2 separate regions of the Homo sapiens genome follow, and region 2 is linked to region 1. The links are contacts of gene promoters, found by promoter capture Hi-C in blood cells and fetal thymus (Javierre and others, 2016). All regions are on one chromosome and are shown on one strand. The core of a region is centred on a gene start or on the middle of the fragment in contact, and the rest is flanking DNA. Distances in the headings are between cores, read along the strand shown. Region 1 holds the start of ABLIM1 (actin binding LIM protein 1). Region 2 overlaps ABLIM1 (actin binding LIM protein 1).

Evidence for each region. The method cuts DNA at HindIII sites, captures the fragments that hold promoters and counts their contacts. A CHiCAGO score of 5 or more calls a contact.
Region 2: a fragment that was not itself captured here is called in contact with the fragment with the promoter of ABLIM1 in region 1 in 2 of 17 cell types (non-activated CD4 T cells and naive CD4 T cells); the score reaches 6.0 in non-activated CD4 T cells.

Annotation. Positions count from the first base shown.
Region 1 is chr10:114,654,131-114,659,757 of GRCh38, reverse strand. ABLIM1 (actin binding LIM protein 1) reads left to right here and starts at 1,483. Exons shown (of 23, transcript NM_002313.7): 1 at 1,483-1,801. The coding sequence starts at 1,558. It overlaps LOC124902588 (small nucleolar RNA U13), which reads right to left and starts at 3,263; the gene lies at 3,164-3,263. The HindIII fragment of the contact is 14,035 bases long and covers 1-5,627 here.
Region 2 is chr10:114,466,124-114,472,643 of GRCh38, reverse strand. ABLIM1 (actin binding LIM protein 1) reads left to right here. Exons shown (of 23, transcript NM_002313.7): 11 at 4,428-4,463. Among named protein-coding and RNA genes, the nearest start is that of AFAP1L2, 65 kb to the right of the region's middle. The HindIII fragment of the contact is 2,815 bases long and covers 6-2,820 here.

The DNA.
Region 1 (5,627 bases), core at 234-2,733:
TAGATCAGTGCTTCCTGAGTGCTGGCACTAGTCTGGGAGAATGTTTAGAAATGTAAATGATGAGTTAATGGGTGCAGCACACCAACATGGCACATGTATGCATATGTACCTGCACATTGTGCACATGTATCCTAGAACTTAAAGTATAAAAAAAGAAAAGAAATGTAAGTTCCTGACCTTTACGTGCAAGAATCCCGTATATATATATTTTGTATTTTTCAAAAGTTCTACAGATTTTTTGTTTTGAGACAGAGTCTTGCCCGGTCACCTAGGAGTACAGTGGCACAATCATAGCTCACTGTAACCTCAAACTCCTGGACTCAACCAATCCTCCTGCCTCAGCCTCCCGAGTAGCTGGGACTACAGATGCATGACACCACACTTGGCCAATGTTTTAATTTTTTTTTTTTTTTCTGTAGAGACAGAGTCTTGCTATGTTGCCAGGGCTGGTCTCGAAGTGGCCTCAAGCAATCCTCCCACCTCAGCCTCCCAAAGTGCTAGGATTACAGACGTGAGCAACCGCACCTGCAGATGGTTCTTATGCACAGCAATATTTGGGAACTACTGGACTAGATTACCTTTGATGGCCTTGTCAGCTCTATAATTCTATTCTAGGGTTTTAATGAAAAGGAATTTATATTAGAACATAATAGCCCAATGACAGGAGAAGGAGTGTGAGTTTATTCATTTTGACTTGGGACTTTTGTATGGTTGTAGACGGTCACATTTTGTACTGCATCTTACTGTGTGGATGTTAAAGAGTAAATGATAATTACTGGGGTTGTCCTTTTTATATCAATACACTAATTCCATGAAGGTCCTTCTAGCTTGTAACTTTGTGTAAAGCTGAAGCTACCTACATGTTAATTCTGTCTCCATCATATGATTCTGCCATCACAGAAAACCCATGAAACATTACGACAGTAAACATTGGCTTAATGGAATGAGGCAGAAGGATTTTCCTGGTACTGAGGGGAGGGGTCCCCTTCTAGAAAATGGAAAGGAAATGATCGTTTACTATGGCTGAGAGCTGGATTTGTCACGAATTGAAGCTGAGGATCTTTATCGAGCCTTCCCCACCTCCACCTGTGAGATCTGAAATACTGGAAAACTTGGAATTATTACCCTGGGATTTTTCTGATAGACATTTTTAGATTATATAAAATATGTGTATATATCCCTAGCCCTATTCTCAGTACTCTTACCAGATGATACTGAATATTCTAGGAGTATTTGCAGGAGAATTCTTTTAGATATTGCAGTTATATTCTTTCTCTTATTCTGGATATTAATCTGATTTTCAAATATGCATTCATGTCTGAGACTGAAAGTCTCGAGTTCCTGGTAGTGGCTGTTTTTATACCTAGTCATCTGACTGAGAATATGGTGCCCTAAGCTCTTGAGGGTAATCACTTAAATACATCTCCCTTAATCTTCTTTGCTGGGCAGTGAGAAAAGGAGACAGTAAGGAGCCAGGGGAACAGAGAGAATTGTGGGGCAGCACCGCTCCTTGGGTCCCCACTCCCCATTTCTCATTGCTTGGAAATCCATGCCAAGATGCCTGCCTTCCTTGGTCTAAAGTGTCTGGGGAAATTGTGCAGCTCTGAGAAAAGCAAAGTCACCTCATCTGAGAGAACCAGTGCCAGGGGCTCGAACAGAAAGAGACTGATTGTTGAGGACCGGAGGGTCTCTGGGACCTCCTTCACCGCTCATAGGCGTGCCACTATCACTCATTTGCTGTATCTCTGTCCCAAGGACTACTGCCCACGTGGGCGTGTATGTAACAGCGTTGATCCTTTTGGTAAGTAAAATAACCCTCTCTGGACATGGTTTTGTGTTTTGTGATTGGCGTAATTAAGAGAGTACTATCCAGATCATTCTTCTGTAATGTGTTCTTCAAAGGAAACACTATCCTTAATATATAATTAATGGGGGTGAGGGTGGGAGAGATGGAGAATGTAACATAAGTGTAGCTACGGAGCTAAATCCCAAGGATATTTTTGTCCAGGATTTTATGATCTTCAGTAACAAATGTATCTCTTTCCAAACTTGGTATGAATAATTGTCAGTAATAGGAAGTATGATGGAAAAGAAAGATCTCTATCTGTAGATGTTATTATTTCATATGACAAAGGATGAATGGAAAGGAAATATTCAAGGGGGGAGATGGAGGCTAGCAAAAGATAAGTAAAGTTGAGGTCCAAATTGTGTCACTGTGTAGGGAGGGCTCGTCTTGTGAAATGTTCTAAAAAAGAAATAAAATAAAAAGAAAGTGTTTTAATATTGAGAGAACTTGTTGAGGCTTCTTTTCAGTGAAGCTCATTAAAACGTGTCACTCATCCCTCTGCCTGGGAAAGAGGTGGAGAAGGCCCACTCTGAGGATAGAGTTATTGCACTTGGGAGTTTTCAGACTTTGAAGTTATCATGGTGCCTTTGTTAATGAAGATGATACCTACCCAACTGCTCACACCTTGTCAAAGTCAGACCTAGAATTGGTACAGGAAGCAGAAGGCAATTAACCATGGTCCCTACGAATGTATGAAGTTAAGTCAAATAAGCCAGGAAGCATAACGCATTCCTCGTCATTCTTGGACAGCCAGAGTTGAATTGGATTCAGTTTAGCTGAAGTACTGGAGTTAAGATGTTCTGTTTTGTTGCAATCAGCTTTCAACAGCTTTATTGAGTTATAATTCATATGCTGTAAAATTCATCCATTTAAAGTCTATAGTTCAGCGAGTTTTAGTATGCAACTGATATGTTACATATATATTTTCATTGCCTCAAAAAGAAACCCTGTACCCTTTAGCTATCGCCTCCCCACCCCAACCTCTTCATCCCCATCTCTCAGCCTTAAGAAATCAAAATCTACTTTCTGCCTCTTAGATTTCCCTATTCTGGATATTTCATGTGAATGGAATTTATAATCTGTGGTCTTTCGTTTATGGCTTCTTTCACTTAGCATGTTTTCAGGGTTTACCCATGTTGTAGCACGTGTCAGTACTTTATTCCTTGTTATGGCCAAATACTATTTCACCGTATAGATATTCCACAATTTGTTTCTGCTTACACCAGCTGATGGACATTTGGGATGTTTCCAACTTTTGGATTTTATGAATAATGCCTCTATGCATATCCATATACAAGGTTTTTTTTTCTTTTTTCGTGTCAGATGGGTAATGTGCCAATGTCATAACAAGGTTCGAGGGTGGCTCACCTCACACACGCGTGTGTGAACACATCAAAAGGATCATCATATACAGGTTTTTATGTGGACATATGATATGTTCAGGGCTCTTGGGTGTATACCTAGGTGTGGAATTTCTGGGTCATATAATAACTATGTCTAACCTTCTGAAGGACTTCTAGATTATTTCACAAAGCAGTTACTCCATTTTACATTCCCACCAGCAGCATATTAAGGTCCCAGTTTCTCCACATCCTTGCTAACACTTGCTATTATCTGCCTTTTTTTTTTTTTTTTTTTTTTTGAGACGGAGTTTTGCTTTGTTGCCCAGGCTAGAGTGTAATGGCGTGATCTCGGCTCACTGCAACCTCTGCCTCCTGAGTTCAAATGATTCTCCTGCCTCAGCCTCCCAAGTAGTTTGGATTACCGGCATGTGCCACCACACCTGGCTAATTTTGTATTTTTAGTAGAGATGGGGTTTCACCATGTTGGCCAGGCTGGTCTGGAACTCCTGACCTCAGGTGACCTGCCTGCCTCCACCTCCCAAAGTGGTGGGATTATAGGCATGAGCCACCGCGCCCGGCCTTATCTGACTTTTTTATTCTAGCCATCCTAGTGGGTGTGAAGCGGTATCTCACTGTGCCTATACAGAGCTTTGGCTGGGACAGAGAGGGCTGACAAGCAGATCAGTGCTCAGGCAAGACAGGATACCGACTTCGACAGCTGCTGATGGTAACAGCTCCTTGTCTCTTACTCTTAACAGTCTTCTCTTCATGATTCCAGGCACATTCCTTTTTAGGGGAGCAGGGAGCGGGGATGAAGAAGCCATGCCTTCTGCCCAGTCCCCTTACAAGCTCTGCTAAGAAGACTTTGTTCAGAACCAGCTGAGTATGCCTATTGTAGCAAATGACACCTCCCTCAAAAATCAGATCCACATACTAGGGGATACCTAGAATCCCTTTATTGAGGAAAAAATGTTTTATTCCACAAATAGGAATAAAAATGAAACATGTAGATTTCTGCTGGAGCTAACACTTTATTCTGAATGACTTCGATGCTTCTATGGAATGTTTCTACTCAAACAGACTCAAATCAGATATTTTTGGAATGAGCCACTGTTGCTCTTGAAAGAGATAAGATCTGTTGGGAGGAGAAGGCAGGAAGGCAAGGGGAAGCCAGGTAAGCTGTAGTTTAATGAAAGCATGCTGGATAATGACTTATCAGCAGATTCCCTCACTTGGGAACAAGAGAATTAACAGTATCCGAGAGAGTTCTGGATACAGGAAAGGTAATCATCATTGGGATATCCATATCTTAGTGGAGGCAGATAAGGAAATCTGGGAGATTAGTTAAGTGTGGCTTTGAGGTTGGACATTCCAGAATTTGACTCCCAGCTCTTCTACTCACTAAATGTGTTACTTTGGGAAGTTAGTGATTCCAAGTGCGTTTCTCTGTCCCTAAGGTAGGCAGGGAATGCATACCTTATAGGATTGCTTTGAGCAGGCCTATCCCTAGAGTAGATGGGGCCCTGGGCAGATTTTTTTTGTAGGGCTCCTGTCTATATAAACAATTTGAGTCACCCAAAGCAGTGTGTCAACAGCTCAATCTGTTTCAGTCTTGGGAAAGAAATGCCACACCAGCCTGAGGAAGTGATTGCTTGCTAGGCTTGTCCCCTAGAATGGAGCCAGCTCCAGGGCCCCAAGAAACCCATTGGCATGACTCCTGGGGCTCCTTGGGGCATCTGGCCAACCCCTTGCACAGTATGGGAGAGATGCAGAGGATCACTAGAGAGATCTGTGAAGAGGAGGCTCAGATTCCCCATCCAGACAGCACTGCTGGCCCCAGCGATCCCAGGTACCAGAGCGCACTTAGACATTTTTGAGGAAGGAATGGGGTTAGGGCAGGGGCCCTGCTTGCGTGTGTCTAAGGGCAGTATTGATTATGAGAACTAAATGAGAACCTGGCTGGGCATGGTGGTGTGGGCCTATAGTACCAGCTACTTGAGAGGCTGAGGCAGGAGGATCACTTGGGCCTAGGAGTTCAAGACCAGCCTGGGCAAACTTGCAAGACCCTATCTCAATTTTAAAAATTGTAAAAAAAGATAAAAATAAATTTAAAGAATGAGAACGTGCATATCAAAGTGTTTGGTATAGTGGCACACAAAAGCATCCACTAAATGTTAATTTCAGTAATAATAATAGAATTGCAATATAGTCAGCATTAGTCATTTTTGACAGTCTCTATGGAGGCTGAATTAAAATAATAAAATAAGAAAAAATTGTTTATTATTGTTAAAAATAATTTCTATTGTTTGCCTTCCATGCTGTGAAACAATAGAGGCCCAGAACTATAGATGCTGCACAGGACGTGGGATTCCCAGAAAGCCACTGTGTGTTCAGAGCATCCTGTTTAGGACAGGTGCTTGGAGGAAGTGCGCCCTCCT
Region 2 (6,520 bases), core at 164-2,663, 190 kb after region 1:
AAGCTTTAAGTATATTCATGGCATCATGAGGAGAGAGAACACACCCCCTAAATTTTGGTAATTACAGTTTTCAGCAACTTAAGAAAGTTAGCATGTGAAAGAAAAAATAAAGTAGAGCGCATGGGGCAACAGTCTAGCACAGGAGTGTGAGCCAGCATTCTGGAATCAAATTACCTGGTCTCAACCCAGGGATCACCACATGCCGATTGTTTGACTTTGACCATGTGACAGCCATTCTGCTGCTAGTTTCCTGGACCAGGTACAGTGCTCATACCTGTAATCCCAACATTTTGGGAGGCTGAGGGCCGGAGGATTGCTTCAGGCCAGGAGTTGAAGACCACCCTGGACAACATAGTTGAGACCTCATCTATATATATTAAAAAAATAAGAAAAATGGTCCTAGTTTCTTCATCTGTAAAACAGATAGGGTGATGATAGAATCTACCTCATAGGGTGTTAGTGAGGATTAAGCAAGCTAATCTATGTAAAGCAATTATCAGAGGCCAGACTTGGGGGAAATACTGAGCATGTGGCAATTTCTACCATTGTTGCTACCTGTCCTCTTGGGGCTCGTTAATACTCGGCCTGCAGACCCATCTGCTGCGGGACCAGAGCCTCTCAGCCCCTTGGGGTCCTCCCCTCCCCGGTCCCATCTCAGGGTTGAAGGTTCTCTGTGGTCGCTTCCTACCCAAGTCCGTTTCCCCTGGCCAATCGGCTCACTCTCATTTTTTTCTCTTTTATTTTTTGAATTAGAATCATCTGTAGACTGATTTTAGTCCACAAAGATGTTAACAAATAGCTGACAAATCAGCTATTCAACAAAGGTTAAAACAGAATATAAACAATCTAGCATCTCACAGTGCTTTGAGGTCTTGGAGAAGAAAAGGCATGAAAATGTGATTCTGTTTAATTGTTCTCAATTCCAGATGTATAATATTATTTGATAATTATATTTATGTTTATTTTTTATTTTATATATATTGTTCCTTTTATTTATTTACTTTCTAATCTGGGTTTTATTCCAGAGCATAGCTCTGCGTGGAAAAGGTCCCTGTGGCAGGAAGTGATATCCATTTTCATGTAGTGCCACCTAGTGGTCACTTAGCTGTAGCTGCACTTGCGGCCGCTCTCAAGCGCAGGTGCATTGGCCCGGGTTGTCAGTTGCCATTGAACCCCACAGAGTTTCGTAGGGCATAAGAGGCGAGGGGAAGTTCCTGAACAAAGTGCATAGAGATTGGCCTTGGACCCTGTGGATGAGAATTTACTAATGTTTAACCCATACAAGCAAGGGGATGTGAGTTTTTTTAATGGTGTTAAGGATTTGGGGTTCATGGTGTGCAGTGTACGTGTCTGTGTGCGTTTCCCAGCAGCTCCATCAAGGCAGTAAAACATTAAGCACTCAAGAGTTTGGGCTTTGAGGTGAAAATCTCTGCATTTAAAACCAGACTCTGCCAGACATGGTGACTCATGTCCGTAATACCAGCACTTTAGGAGGCCAAGGCCAAGGTGGGTGGATTGCTTGAGACCAAGAGTTTGAGACCAGCCTGGACAACATACCAAAATTCCATCTCTACAGAAAAAAAATACAAAAATTAGCCAGGAATGATGGCACACGCCTGTAGTCCCAGCAACTTGGGAGGCTGAGATGGGAGGATCACTTGAGCCCAGGAGGTTGAGGCTGCATTGAGCCATGATCATGCCATTGTACTCCGGCCTGGGTGATAGAGTGACACCCTGTCTCAAAAACAAAACAAAGCAAACAAAACAAAAACCACCACCACAAAAAAAGAAAAAAAGAAAAACCAGACCGATGCTGACTAACCACATAACTTTGGGGAAATTATATACCTCAATCTCCTTATCTGCAAACTCAAGATAGAGAACAAGAATACCTATGCTAGAAGTTTTCTGTAAAGAGTAAGTGAGCTATTTACATTAGAACAGTACTGGGCACATAATAAGTGCTTAAGAAAAATGCTGGCTACTCTCGTAATCAGCATACTTACTGTCATAACCTGGAATTATGTCCCATGGTTTTCTCTATGCATAGAGGGTGCCCCTGGGATCAGAAATCAGATATATTAGTGAACTCTTTCCCAATACTTGCATCTTGCAACTGAGAGAAATTTACAAGCTGTTCTATTATTTATTCCATTAAAGTTTAACACACTTCTTTTATAGACCTCATATACATATTGCCTTTTTTTTTTTTTTTTTTTTTTGAGGTGGAGTCTCACTCTGTCACCCAGCTGGAGTGTAGTGGTGCAATCTTGGCTCACTGCAACCTCTGCCTCCCAGGTTCAAGCAGTTCTGCTGCCTCAGCTTCCCAAGTAGCTGAGACTACGGGCATGTGCCACCATGCTGGGCTAATTTTTGTATTTTCAGTAGAGTTGGGGTTTCTCCATGTTGGCCAGGCTGGTCGTGAACTCCTGACCTCAAGTGATCCACCCGCCTTGGCCTCACAAGGTGCTGGGATTACAGGTGTGAGCCACCGCACCTGGCCTTTATACATATTGCCATTTAAGAAACACTGCAAGAGTCAGATTAGTTCTGTGCAGCCATTGGTGCCTCCAGGGCCTTGCTGTCAGTGCAGGTGCAGACCTGGGCCCTGACCTTGAGACCAGCCTTCACCCAGCTGAGACCCCCTAGAGACAGGCTGTAGCTGCAGAGGAGACCCTGGAGCTTGTGAAGGCTTAGAATACAGACAGTCCGCCCACTTACTATAGAATGTGGGGAAAAGGGCAAATTCTAAAACTGAGAAGTCCACCCCTGGCTGTGTTCTCCATAGCTCTGTTTGAATTTCATTTCTATTTGAAAGCTTTTTGCATTTTAATTGTAAACATTTTATTCATCTGGAAAATACTTGAGCAACTACTGTGTCCCAGGAGCTGCTGTCATCACTGGGAATATGTAGTTGTAAACAAACAGTCCTTGCCCTCATGGAGCTTGTGGCATCACGTGGGAGACAGACAGTAAAGAAACAGATATGTAATATAATTTTACAGAGTGGTAGGGCTCTGAGGAGAAATGAAGCAGAGTAAAGAGAAAGCGTACCAGGGGCTGGGTTGCTCCTCTGGACAGAATGGTCACGGAGATGCTGTGTGACAGTGGGTTTGAGCAGAGACATCAGCGCTGACAGGGAATGAGCCCTGCAGGTGTCTGGGTGAAAAGCACTGGCAGCAGAAGAGACAGCAAGTGCAAAGGCCCTGAGGTGACAGAAAGCTTGGCCTGTTGATGGCCCCAAGGAAGCCTGTGTGCCTAGGAGGATGGAAGCCAGAGGTGAATGATAGTGAGATTGGCGAGGTGAATGATAGTGAGATTGGCGATGCAGCCAAGGCAGGATGCCCCATGCCTGGTCACCAAAGTCCTATTTTAGTTATCAAACTATTTTATGGTGATTGCTGTGGTTGTAATTTAGTCAACAACCATGTGAACAAGATCCTATGTTTCAGTAGATGCTGTAACTCATCATAGTAAAATGAGCGTAGTTTGAATATATAAGGGAAATGGTTCCAACTTGTCTAGCTTAATCACCTAAGTATGTATCACAATCATATCTAGTCATGGTTCTTTTTTTTTTTTTTTTTTTTTTGAGACAGAGTCTCGCTCTGTCTCCCAGGCTGGAGTGCAGTGGCGTGATCTCGGCTCACTGCAAGCTTCGCCTTCCGGGTTCACGCCATTCTCCTGCCTCAGCCTCCCAAGTAGCTGGGACTACAGGCGCCCGCCACCGCGCCTGGCTAATTTTTTGTAGTTTTTAGTAGAGACGGGGTTTCACCATGTTAGCCAGGATGGTCTCGATCTCCTGACCTTGTGGTCCGCCAGCCTCAGCCTCCCAAAGTGCTGGGATTACAGACGTGAGCCACCGCACCCGGCCTATTCATGGTTCTTAGGCAGAGATGTGCACCAGAATCTCCCCGGAACTTTGTCAGAGTCTACCTGTCTGAGCCCCATGGCAGATGCATTTGTACCTGATCAGAAGACAGGGAGATGTGGAGGGATGCTGGCAGGTACATGTTGGCTAATATTTACAGCTGACTCTGATAAACAACTCTAATTAAAACTGGCAAAGAGGCCAGGCGCGGTGGCTCACGCCTGTAATCCCAAAACTTTGGGAGGCTAAGGGGGGCGGATCATGAGGTCAGAAGATAGAGACCATCCTGACTAACGCAGTGAAACCCCATCTCTACTAAAAATACAAAAAAAGTAGCTGGGGGTGGTGGCGGCGCCTGTAGTCCCAGCTACTTGGGAGGCTGAGGCAGGAGAATCGCTTGAACCTGGGAGGCGGAGATTGCAGTAAACCGAGATTGCGCCACTGCACTCCAGCCTGGGCGACAGAGCGAGACTCCATCTCAAACAAACAAACAAACAAACAAAACGGCAAAGAGTTAACAAACATTGTGACTTTAAATTCTCTTTTATTTTTCTAGTCTCCGAGGACTTTGTCTCCTACTCCATCAGCAGAAGTAAGTACCATTTCTTTTTATCATTTTAATGGGTGGAATTTGAGAATTGCTTGGCCCTTCCCTAGACTGGGATTTTTGAAAAAGAACATAACATACAAAAGAACAGAAAAACTGCATGTGGGGTTATGGTGGCTTTGGGGATTACCTCCGTGAAAGAGGAGACTCTAAGACACAGCAATATATTTCTCTTAAATTGGAGACCAGGGAGTAAAAATGGCCTCACTTTAATCTGTGTCTGTGCCTGTAAGTGGAAGCAAAGTGTCTGCAGGAACATAAGTCACTTGTCCCAATGTGGGGCTCTTTGTCCGCATCTATAATTAATTTTTCTGAACCCTAATATACTGAAATGGCCAACAGCCATCATGGCGTATTCTATAAGCAGAGCCATCTTGATGGGAGGTTACTCTGTTTAGTCTGAAATCAATCATCTGATCCTAAAACCAAGCAACTTTCTGGATATTATGAAACTGGACTACTTTTAGGGAATCTCTGTAATTCAAAGTAGTAAAAATACCATAATATTTTCATGGTTTATGACTGCTATGAATTATTAATTTCTACCTATATTCTAATAATTTGCATTGAATTTATGAAGAATTAATTTCTATTGACCAACTGTGCAAGCTTGAAGCACATAATCTGGGGACTTTTTGTTTTGTTGTTGTTTTATTTAATTTATTGTTATAGACAACTAGTATCAAGCCAAAGTTTCCCCTTGCCATTTGCTCTCAAATTCCACAAAGCTATGGTTACTGAGGTGTTCATTTAGTCGTTATTAATGCATTCTTTCAAACTTTTTACTTTTATTGTGCTAGTAGAAATTTCATAGGACAACAGATTCCTAAAATGTAAAATATTCTTTGTACTCTTTCAACTCTTTAGACAGTTTTATATTGTGTGTGTGCATGTGGTTTTTTGTACTTATTACCTAATATATCCTTTTCTAGATTTGGAGATAGGTGACATTTTAGTGGTGCTATGATATTCCATTGAATTCGCATGTCATAATTTCCTTTTTTTTTGAGACAGAGTCTCACTCTGTTGCCCAGGCTGGGGTGTAGTGGCACAATCTTGGCTCACTGCAACCTCTGCCTCCTGGGTTCTAGTGATTCTCCTGTCTCAGCCTCCCAAGTAGCTGGGATTACAGGTGCACACCACCATGCTCAGCTAATTTATGTATGTTTAGTAGAGACAGGGTTTCACCATGTTGGGCAGGCTGGTCGCAAACTCCTGACCTCAGGTGATCCACCCACCTTGGCCTCCCAGAGTGCTGAAATTACAGGCATGAGCCACTGTGCCTGGCCCGTATGTCATAATTTCTTAATTGTGCCCCAATTTGTTGAACATGTAACGCAAATTTTTGCCTTTATGAATAGTAGTACTATGAAAGTATTTGAATAAATTATTCCTCCTTTTAAAGGGCATTTTAAATTATTTTCTTGGGATATGTTTCCCAAAGTGAGAAGTAAAATACCGGCTTTATGGCAACCATCAACTTGTTATTCAGGAGAATTTATTTAAAATGCCACCAGATCAATGTCGTAGACAGTACAGTTTGGTTGGTGGTCAGAACGAAGGAAGAGATTAGAGTCAGGAGTCTGGTTCCGAAGCAGGCTCTGCCCATACCAACTACATGCCTACACACAGGGCTCTTACCAGCTTGGAACCATGTTTCTACATTAGTGGGGGAGGGAGGTGATAGTATGTGACCTACCTTTTCTTGTTATGCAGATCTGGTAGGTATGTGAACATACTTATGAAACGGAAAAGTACAATGTCAGCATGGTCATTGGAATTATTATCTCTTGTCCCATAGCCCTATCTCTATTAAGGTTTATATGTTTTCATCCTTAAAATTTTTTTTTTTTAAAGAAACAGTGTCTCACTCTGTCGTCCAGGCTGGAGTGCACTGGCACAATCATAGTTTACTGCAGCCTCGAACTCCTGAGTAGCTGGGACTGCAGGCATGTGCCATCATCCCTGGCTAATTTTTTACAGTTTTTTGTAAAGACAAGGTCTCGTTGTGTTGCCCAGGCTGTTCTCGAACTCCTGGCTTC